Regions from separate parts of the Homo sapiens genome. Here region 1 is linked to region 2. Evidence: promoter capture Hi-C in 16 types of primary human blood cells and fetal thymus (Javierre and others, 2016). All regions are on one chromosome and are shown on one strand. The core of a region is centred on a gene start or on the middle of the fragment in contact, and the rest is flanking DNA. Distances in the headings are between cores, read along the strand shown. Region 1 overlaps CDC14A (cell division cycle 14A). Region 2 holds the start of FRRS1 (ferric chelate reductase 1).

Region 1 (5,443 bases), core at 479-2,978, 730 kb after region 2:
CATTTTCTGCAGTATTATGAGAAAAGGGGATAGCAAGCCTGGTTCTGGGTAATCTAATATCCATTTGCAAGGTTTCTCCCTTTTGCTAATTTAATATTTTTACTGGTTTGATACCATTTGATGTGCCTTGTGGTCTTTGTGAAAACGTGTGCCCTGGTGATATGTGAGCATCTGTCTTTGATTTCCGCAGGTCAGATGATACAAAAGGACATCCAAGAGCAGTGTCCCAGCCTTTCAGGTACTGCCAATGAGGTTGAATGTCTAGTAGCTTGTAAATATATGCTTCCTTTTAGCCATGTTTCCCAAGCCTCAAACACGAAAATCAACTGTACACAGCTTTTTGCTTTTTAAATTGCTTCCTTTCTCTTCCATATTGTTTATGCCTTATTTTTAATGCTCACCATGAAAAGGATTTTTTTTTTTTTTTGCTGGCATGCCCACAGGACTGTGTGGTGGTGGTAGAGACATCAATGTATTTTGTGCTCTTAGCACATTGTGGAGGGGGGTCTCTAAGAAACTACAGGTGCTCTGCATTTCTCCTTTTGATCTAGTGATAGATCTAGCTTAAATTGTTTTCATTTTTATTGGTCCTCTTTCTATTTTTTCCCAATCAGCATGCATTTGTTCCCCTCCTTTATTTTCTAGTCTTATTTTCTTCTCTACCTTCCTTTTCAAGAGGAAACACTAGTTTTGTTCTGTGGAAAAATGTCCCCTGAAACCTCCGGGAGTGGTACCACGATCTGGTGTGGCACTCAGTGAGAGCAGCAGAGATGTTTGGCCAAGAGTGTTGATGAAATAGGGGAAAGAAGCTCTTCACCTGCTGGTTCTTATTCATTCTTAGGTTTAGGACTGTTTAGTGAGGGCAGTTCAAAGAGGGCTTAAGCATCTGGAGCTTCTGGAGAAGCTTGAATTGCTTCTTTGTAGAACTTTTTCCATTTTTATTTTGGAGGCAAAACATGAGCTTAAGCTGCTGTTTGGTGGGTGGATAATGAAGGAAAGAGTCTACAAGTAAATAAGCTTTTCTCTAGCAGAGAGGAAAACAGAGTTCAGCTATATTAAATGATTTATCTAGGATCAAACAGATTTGGTATTAAGATTATGACTGGGCCCTGGCTCTCCAGATTTGAGTCAGTTTTTCCTTTTTGTCCACTTGGCAAATATTTATTGAGCACCTGCTCAGAATCCAGCATTGTGCTAGCCACTGGGAATTGAAATGAGAGAGAAGTCTTTGCCCTCAAGGAGCTTACATCAGGTAACGGAGATAGACAAATATCAGATGACGCAATATGGTATAAGAGCTATGATTTACTATGAGAATATATGATGAAACATATATTGCTTGGGAACTCAGAGAAGGCTTGCTTGATGAGGTAACAGCTGATTGGACCATTAAAGGCTAAGTGTGATAGAAGTGGGTCAAATGGACATGGAAGATAAGAGGTAGAGGATGGGAAGGAGATGAGAAAATGCCATGGCAGGGAAATAGTCTGTGCAAACTGGACAAACGTGTGGACGCTACCCATTCAGGGAACTCAAGGCATTCTTATGTAGCTGGAATAGAGATGTCCAATGGGAAAGTGTGGAAAGAAGGACCTGTCCAGATTTTGGAGGGGCTGCATATGCCAAGCCAAAGAGTTTCTATAGGCTTGTGGGCACAGAGGAAAGATGAAATGATTTAAACAGTGAAGTGACATGATTCACTGAAGGCTATTCACAATTTGAATTGTTTAGGAATAAGATTAAAAGATGCCACTTGTAGTCAAGGATAAGAAATAAAGATGGCCTCGCCTAGGGTAGTTTGCAGGGTGAAAAGAAGAGGATGGATTTGACATATAAGAAGTGGAATCTAAGGTTGTGCTGAGGAATGAATACCAGTGGCAAAGAAGGGCAGTGGCCCAGGAAGACAGGATCATGGCTAAGAGCAGGACTTTGACTCCTGGGTTTGAATCCCAGGTCTGCTGTTCACTAACTGAGTGACTGGATGAGGAACTTTTCCTCTGTGTTTTTGTTTCCTCACTTGTAAAGTAAGGACAGCAATATTAGCTACTTCTTAGGGTTGTTGTAAGGACAAGCTGAGCTGACATCTTTAAGGTTCTTAGAACAGTGCCTGGCAGAGTTAGTGCTGTGTCAGTGGTGGCTGCCGCTGCTGTCATCACTATTAGGACCTGTCATGATATCTTTAAGATTGATTAATTTATCTTGTCCTAGTTAGTTGCTGAATGTTTAAGATAAGACTACTTTATTGTGACACTTTGCCATTTTTCTCCGCAAAGATTAAGTTCATCCCTGCAAGGATCTGCAGTTACTTTGAAGACATCAAAAATGGCACTGTCCCCTTCAGCAACGGCCAAGAGGATCAACAGAACTTCTTTGTCTTCGGGTGCCACTGTAAGAAGGTAATTTTTCTCTCCCTCTTCTAAGGTGCTGGTTTGAGGTAAAGGAAGCTTGCAGCAGGCGATGAGTTTAGCTGCAGTTTTGTCAGAGGAGGGGACAAGGGAGAAGAGGAGAAACCACGGAAGACCCTGTGATGTTCTGGGGCTTCCGTTCCTGTCTTGGGAAGGCAGGAGACAAGGTTGTGGAGGGAATGGTGCAAAGCGTGCTCTTCTTCTAGAGAGTGAGCAGCTGGCTTAGTGTGATCCAGAAAATGGAGTTCAGTTGTATATACAAATGATATTGTCATTTCTCAGCTGACACGTATAGGCAAGGGAGAACTAACCAAAATGGGTAGGGATGTTTGATGTAGTCATGTGATTGAATATGTACTTAAGTCTGCTTTTAATGCTCCCCTTACATGGCCCTTTTCCTTTACTTCCCACCCCAGGGTAAATAAAACTCTGTGATGTTCTATTTCAAGATCTGTAGTCAAAGTGTTTTAGCCAGTTTCTTGGGTCCTAGTTAACTGCTTTTGACAAAGCAACTTGATATGTATAACTCAAGGCTACATATTATCATAACACCAAGGGTGATGAGGAAGCCATCCTGACATCATTCACATTGATCAGATTCATCTTCATCATGTTCCCCTAATGTCATGAGTATGTGTTTTAGAAACGTGAGCTCTGTGTGATTGTACATTGTTGTCTGTTTTTTCCCTCCTCACTTGTGTTTTCCATTCAGCTTTTCCATAAACTCCCGGCTAGCCAGTTCTCTAGGGAACTTGAATGCTGCAACAGATGATCCAGAGAACAAAAAGACCTCCTCATCCTCTAAGGCAGGCTTCACAGCCAGCCCGTTTACCAACCTCTTGAATGGCAGCTCCCAGCCAACTACCAGAAATTACCCTGAGCTCAACAATAATCAGTACAACAGAAGCAGCAACAGCAACGGGGGCAACCTGAACAGCCCCCCAGGCCCCCACAGCGCCAAGACAGAGGAGCACACCACCATCCTCCGACCCTCCTACACCGGGCTTTCTTCTTCTTCAGCGAGATTCCTGAGCCGTTCTATCCCTGTAAGTGCGCAGACACCACCTCCTGGTCCTCAGAACCCTGAATGCAACTTCTGTGCCTTGCCTTCCCAGCCGAGGCTGCCACCAAAGAAATTTAATAGTGCCAAGGAAGCCTTCTGAGCGATGCCTTCCCTCTGTGCTGTGAAACTGTCTATGCACTACATTCTGCTAGCTCCTCTTCAAGTAAACGCCAAGTCACAACTGGGTTTTCTTCCTTCCTTCTTTTTCTTCTTACCCCCAACTCCTTTTTAAGTAGTTTCTCTTAAAAGGGAAATAGCTTTCATTCTTTTGATTATGGGCATTGTTGACTTCAGTTACTTTTCAGTTATGTTTCCAATCACTCTGAATATCTGGTGCTAAGCCAGGAGCTGATTCATACAGTGGATAGCATTTGCTGGGGGTGCGCTGGTTTGGGGAATTATGGCTTTTTCCGCATCATATATCAGTGAATTAATTTTGGAGTATTGAAACGTGGAAGGTGCTGAGTGAACAGTATCTTCCTAGAACTAAGCATTAGGCCCTTGAATATTTCACCTCCTGCAAGGAACTGACCCAGAATAAAATAAGTGGCAAGTGGAAGATATTTCTAAGAAGGGCTTATAGGTAGGTACCTGGGATGCAAGGTGGGGAGCAAGCAGAGTATCAGGAAGGTGTTTAAAAGTAGCCAGCACTCTTCTAGAGAAAGGTGGGAAGACCTCCAAACACATCTTACCAATGAGATCTCTATTTAGGTTACCAAGCTCTCTTTAACAATCAACAATACCTGGTAAGGTAAACTCTGTTGGTAAACTCCTATTATGAATTACTTTAATAACCTGTTTTGATTGCCTCTAGGGGTATTGAGATCTATAGGAATGTGAGTTTCGATTTGAGAGGAACAAGGACAAATAGGAAGGAGAAATCAATCCTATGTATTAAGGAAATATGAAGCATGGTACATATACATACAGTGTTGCAACACTGATCGTACTCAGGGCATGAACAAGCCCTGGGTGTCTTGGAAGGCTCTGGCCTGGTGTCGCTTCACACTTGCTATTCTTGAAACATTTCCTCAGCCATCATCTAGGGAGTGCCTGCTTCTGTAGAGAAGAGGGGAGGAGGAAAGGTGCTGGTGGCAGTGTGCTGCGTATGGCCCACTCAGCAAAACAGGAGCCCCATGGTTCATTCTTAATGATATCTACTTTCTTTAGTTGACAGTTTAGAAACCATGAGGATGGGCCAGGCTCAGTGGCTCATGCCTATAATCCCAGGACTTTGGGAGGCCAAGGCTGGTGGATCACCTGAGGTCAGGAGTTCGAGACCAGCCTGGCCAACATGGTGAAACCCCGTCTCTACAAAAAATACAAAATTAGCTGGGCGTGGTGGCACGCACCTGTAATCCCAGCTACCATAAGGCAGGAGAATCCCTTAGAACCTGGGAGGTGGAAGCTGCAGTGAGCCAAGATCGTGCCACGGCACTCCAGCTGGGTGACAGAGCCACTCTCAAAAAAAAAAAAAAAAAAAAAAAAAAAGAAACCATGAGGATGAGGATGTTTTCTAACATGAGAATGCAGTGTGTGTGTGTGTGTGTGTGTGTGTGTGTGTGTGTGTGTGTTCATGTGTGGTTGCATTAGATTCATTACCACTCCTGTCCCTACCTGAGACCTCTTTTAAAACTTTTACCCTCTCTGTCCACTCTCAACCCATTCCCTAAGAGGAGCCTGGCATATCTGATGTTCCCTGTCCTATTTTACAGGCATGAGCCACCATGCTTGGCCTTGGCATTAGTTTAGATTCTTTTACAGATTAGGGTCCCAGGAAATTGCCAGCCCATCTACCCCTTAATCTGATTCTGATCCCATGATCCCACTATAAAAATTGGGTGTATAGGTATCATAAAAACTTAAATCCATGTAACTAAGGATTAGATGTAAAAAGATAATATATTTACATTTTCCTAACTATATTTATAAATCATATACTTTCCAGCAGGCATTGAGTTCAGTCAGCATTTTC
Region 2 (5,265 bases), core at 1,585-4,084:
GAGGTTGAGGTGAGCCGAGATGGCACCATTGCACTCCAGCCTGGGCAACAAGAGTGAAACTCTGTCTCAAAAAAAAAAAAAAAAGAATGAAAAGAAAAGAAATATATCTTACAGAAAAACCCATACAGTTAAGCAAGGATTATTTCCAGTAGCAAAAATGTTGGATAATTTAAGTGGTTACAAAAATAAACTACGCTATACCCAAACTATATAATACTTGCTAAACGTTAACAAAATGAAATAGAGTAAACAGATAACAAATACATCAGCTAATAATTATTGAGTGCATTCTAGGAGGTAGGCATTGTTTTAAGTACTTTGCAAGTATGAACTCATTTCACAAAAATCCCAAGACATGAATCTGCATGTTAAGAAGATACATGCTCATGCTCCACTGAGGAATCAAAACAAGAAAACTGCAAAATGATATGGAATGTACCAAAATATACATAACTTAAAAGGAAAAGAAAAAAACCTTTATACATGCTTCCAATTGTTCTCAACAGTGTTTACCCCTTAGGAAGGTATGTGTTTTCAGGATGGGAAGAGTGGGCTTCCTTTCTTTAATGCCCTTTATAATGTGCATTTTTTTTAAAGCATGTAGTGTTTTATAATTTCAAAAAACACTACAAAGTATGTACATGTAAGACTGTACAGAAACTGATTTGAAGGTGGTTAGATATTTTCTTTTTTCTATTTTCAAACATTCTATGTTACTTTTACTATTTTTGTTTGTTTTGATAAAGAAGACCTTCACCCCTCTTTCAAGATCCATTTAAAACGCCGTCAACTACTGTCCTATGATACAATGAAGTGTATGGACTTTGAAATATCACAGACCTAGGTTTGAATCTGTCCATTAATGTAATCCAGCAGGCACCACCATAGTGACCCTGGACAAATTATTTAACCTTACTGAGTCTTAGTTTTCTCACTTGTTAGAGACAATGCCACCAATATCAATGGCTTGCATGAGGATTAAATAAAATACTATCTCCAAAATATCTAGCACAATGACCACCATTAACAAAGTCTCCCATATAAAACTGTCTTCCTTTCTTGGATTCTTGCCTAATTCCACCAACCTGAAATAACTGTTCACTCCATAAGCTTTAGTTTTTCCTAATAAATTTTATCATGTTTTTCTGCCACATTTGGTGACTTGTCTTTTGGTAAACCTCTGGATATCAGTAAAGGTGTCCTACACATTGATCTCCATTCATTCTGACTAGCAGACAACCTTCAAAACAGTACTCATACAGTGTGATTGTTATGTGAATTTTGAGAAAATCCAATATTAAAAAAGCTGACAGGTGTGAAACAGAGAGTACACTTCACCAAAAAAATCAACATACTGGCTAACTAAATGACGAACTAAAACTCACTTCTCCAACCTAACAAAACCATCTCTTAAAAGGTCTTTGTTTTCAATAAGCTGATAGATCAAATTAAGCCCCCAACTTCAGTTCTATCCCAGTATAATACTCAAATCTTACCACTTTTTTAAAAATACAGAAGTGGCTGGGCGCGGTGGCTCACGCCTGTAATCCCAGCACTTTGGGAGGCCGAGGCAGGCAGATGACCTGACGCTGGGAGTTCGAAACCAGACTGACCAACATGGAGAAACCCCGTTTCTACTAAAAATACAAAATTAGCCGGGTGTGGTGGTGCCTGCCTGTAATCCCAGCTACTCAGGAGGCTGAGGCAGGAGAATTGCTTGAACCCGGGAGGCAGAGGTTGCAGTGAGCCGAAATCCCGCCGTTGCACTCCAGCCTGGGCCACAAGAGCAACACTCCGTCTCGAAAATAATAAATAAATAGGCCAGACGCGGTGGCTCAAGCCTGTAATCCCAGCACTTTGGGAGGCGGAGGCGGGCATATCACGAGGTCAGGAGATAGAGACCATCCTTGCCAACACAGTGAAACCCCGTCTCTACTAAAAATACAAAAAATTAGCCGGGCGTGGTGGCGGGCGCCTGTAATCCCAGCAGTATACTCAGGAGGCTGAAGCAGAAGAATCGCTTGAACCCGGGAGGCGGAGCTTGCAGTGAGCCGAGATCGCGCCACTGCACTCCAGCCTGGCGGACAGAGCGAGACTCCGTCTCAAAAATAAATGAATAAATAAATAAATAAAAATAAAAAATAAAAATACAGAAGCAAATGAAAATATCTGAACTGAAAAGTTTAGCTATGTTAAGAAATATTCCTAATAACACATTTACAATTTGAAAAATCCCCTTTACCCTTTAGGGCAGTATGACAAGCACACACAAAAATAAGTGCAGTGATAACACCTTGCCACCCTGGAGTCTTTCTGAAATTTTAACGACACACCAGGGCTAGGGAGTGGGAGGGTAAGGGGACTAAAAGTTCTAGATAAAAAGCCACTTTAAAAACCAAATAAGGTTCTAAGTGACCCTGATATAGGTAACCATGCCACTAGCTTTAAATATAAAAAAAGAGTTCCTACAGTTTTAAATTTAAAATTAAAAACAAAAAAAAAACTCCTGCAAGAATAAAGTCAATGATTTTCAGGATCCCAAACACGTCTCTACTTATAACCACCCATATCTTGGAATTAAAGCTTGTTAGTCAAAGTCACAGGACATATTAACCTAACTCGTTAGTGAACACTCATTAGCTCAATTCAAGCTCCAGAACATAGTTTCGGAATACAGCACCCGTTCTGCCTGGCCGACTGCCCTGGTCAGCACAGGCACTCGCTCTCCAGTCTGTCGCTAAGCTGGATTTGATTTTTAACGCTTTACAAAGAGCTTTGACATTAAGGAAAAAGACGTGACACTTACCTTGAGAAGCGAAGGCAGCCTAACCAACTTCCGGTTTTGTTACAACTTGTATCACATTTCAGCAGCTGGGTGGAGCCAGTTAAGCCTTGAGCCAAAAGGGAACCTTTCCCAAACTAAGCTGCAGAACTTGATTTGCAAGACCAGTGCTAGTTTTAGGACTCCATTTCTGAAAACTTAGAATTCTGTTTTACACTAAGGAACAGTGTTTGCCAACTAGTACCTACTTCGCCACAAAAATTATAGTTTTTGTGTTTAATTGCAAAACTATTTGAAAATACCTGTTCTATAATAGTGCTAAGTAAAAGCAAATTAACTTTTAAAAAGTGGAAAAAGATCAGATTGCATAGAACCGAAACCTTTCTGCAGTGTGAATGATATAATGCAAAAGAAATCTTTTATTTTGCAAATTACCCCTGAAATTTAGGAGTTTTGTTTCTTTTTAAGCCTTTAATCTGTTTCACAAGACTCTTTTGCAAAAGAAAAATTTTAGGGCTAGGAAAAGACAATGTAATTGAATTTTTAACAATCTTTGTTTTTATTTTGTTTTTTGTTTTCCTGTTTTTTACTTTTTTTCTTCTCTTTAATGTAATTGAAAATATTAAACATTCCATTTCAGACCTTGAGTGACATTGTAATTGCCCAGTGGGTTCACCTTGCCCGCTGTCTAGACAGAGCCGATTTATCAAGACAGGGGAATCGCAATGGAGAAAGAGTAATTCACGCAGAGCTGGCTGTGCAGGAGACCGGAGTTTTTTGTTTTGTTTGTTTGTTTGTTTTGTTTTGTTTTGTTTTGAGACGGAGTCTCTGTCTGTGGCCCAGGCTGGAGTGCGGTGGCATGATCTCGGCTCACTGCAGCCTCCCCGTCCTAGGTTCAAGCGATTCTCCTGCCTCAGCCTCCCCAGTAGCTGGGACTACAGGCGCCCGCCACCACGCCCGGCTAATTTTTGTATTTTAGCAGAGACAGGGTTTCACCATGTTGGCCAGGCTAGTTTGGAACTCCTGACCTCAAGTGATTCCACCTGCCTCAGCCTCCCAAAGTGCTGAGATTACAGGCATAAGCCACCGCGCCCAGCCCGGAGTTCTATTATTACTCAACACAGTCTCCCCAGGATTCGGAGATCAGAATTTTTAAAGATAATTTGGCGGGTAGGGGCTTGGGAAGTGGGAGTGCTAATTGGTCAGATTGGAGATGGAATCATGGGGGGTCGACGTGAGGTTTTCTTGCTGTCTTCTGTTCCTGGGTGGGATGGCAGAACTGGGTGAGCCCAATTACCGGTCTGTGTGGCATCAGCTGATCCACCGAGTCCAGGCTCTGCAAAATATCTCAAGCACTGATCTTAGGTTTTACAATAGTGATGTTATCCCCAGGAGCAATTTGGGGAGGTTCAGACTCTTGGAGCCAGAGGCTGCATGACCCCTAAACCATAATTTCTAATCTTGTAGCTAATTTGTTGGTCCTGCAAAGGCAGACTGGTCCCCAGGCAAGAAGGGGGTCTATTCAGGAAAGGGCTACTACCAATTTTGTTTCAGAGTCAAAACATGAACTGGATTCCTTCCCAAAGTTAGTTTGGCATATGCCCAGGAATGAACAAGGACAGCTTAAAGATTAGAAGCAAGACAGAGCCAGTTAGGTCTGTTCTCATTCACTGCCATAATTTCCTCAGTTATAAAAGGCTTTGCAAAAAGCCTTTTTGCAAAGGCGCTTTCAACATATGCAGACTGGAAAATAGATTATGACCCATGCCTTGACCTGTGAATGCTGGTTATCAATCAACCCCAGTAAATTCTTTAAACCATTTTTAAAGAGAGAACAGAGAAAGGAACACCATCACGTTACGCTTTCTCTTAAAGAACTAGTCACAATTAACAAAAGCCCCTCTCTACAGGTTATTAAAGAGAGGCTTTAAATAAAGATGACCCAGAGTTGGTTTGCTATCCTAAAGCTGCTGGGAACATGAATAGTTTTAAACTAAGTCAGCTGATCTTCAGTTCTTCAAAGCCTCAAGTGGTGAAATAGCCTTCTGCAGATAACAGACCCTTTCCAGGAACTGTCCCCATTGCATGCCAAAAGTATGATATGTCTATAAAACAAAAACTCTTCGACTATATTATCAGAACCCTACATTCTAAAGCACTCTTAGGAAGTGGTACGACACAGTGGGAAGAACTGAATGGAGAGAGAGGCTAGCTTTGTCTAAAACAACCCTTTCACTAGGCTCAGTGGCTCACATCTGTAATCCCAACACTTTGGGAGGCCGAGGGGGGTGGATCACGATATCAGGAGTTCAAGACCAGCCTGGCCAAGATGATGAAACCCTGTCTCTACTAAAAACACAAAAATTCGCCAGATGTGGTGGCACACGCCTGTAATCCCAGCTACTCAGGAGGCTGAGGCAGGAGAATGCTTGAACCTGGGTGGCAGAGGTTGCAGTGAGCAGAGATCACACCACTGCACTCCA

The links. Contacts are between HindIII fragments. The CHiCAGO score rates a contact against its expected background, and 5 or more counts as called.
Region 1: a fragment that was not itself captured here is called in contact with the fragment with the promoter of FRRS1 in region 2 in 1 of 17 cell types (erythroblasts); the score reaches 6.3 in erythroblasts.

Annotation. Positions count from the first base shown.
Region 1 is chr1:100,495,812-100,501,254 of GRCh38, forward strand. It overlaps CDC14A (cell division cycle 14A), which reads left to right. Exons shown (of 16, transcript NM_003672.4): 13 at 191-238; 14 at 2,274-2,396; 15 at 3,118-3,451. Among named protein-coding and RNA genes, the nearest start is that of GPR88, 40 kb to the right of the region's middle. The HindIII fragment of the contact is 1,427 bases long and covers 1,016-2,442 here.
Region 2 is chr1:99,763,801-99,769,065 of GRCh38, forward strand. It overlaps FRRS1 (ferric chelate reductase 1), which reads right to left and starts at 2,835. Exons shown (of 17, transcript NM_001361041.2): 1 at 2,807-2,835. The HindIII fragment of the contact is 6,315 bases long and covers 2,582-5,265 here.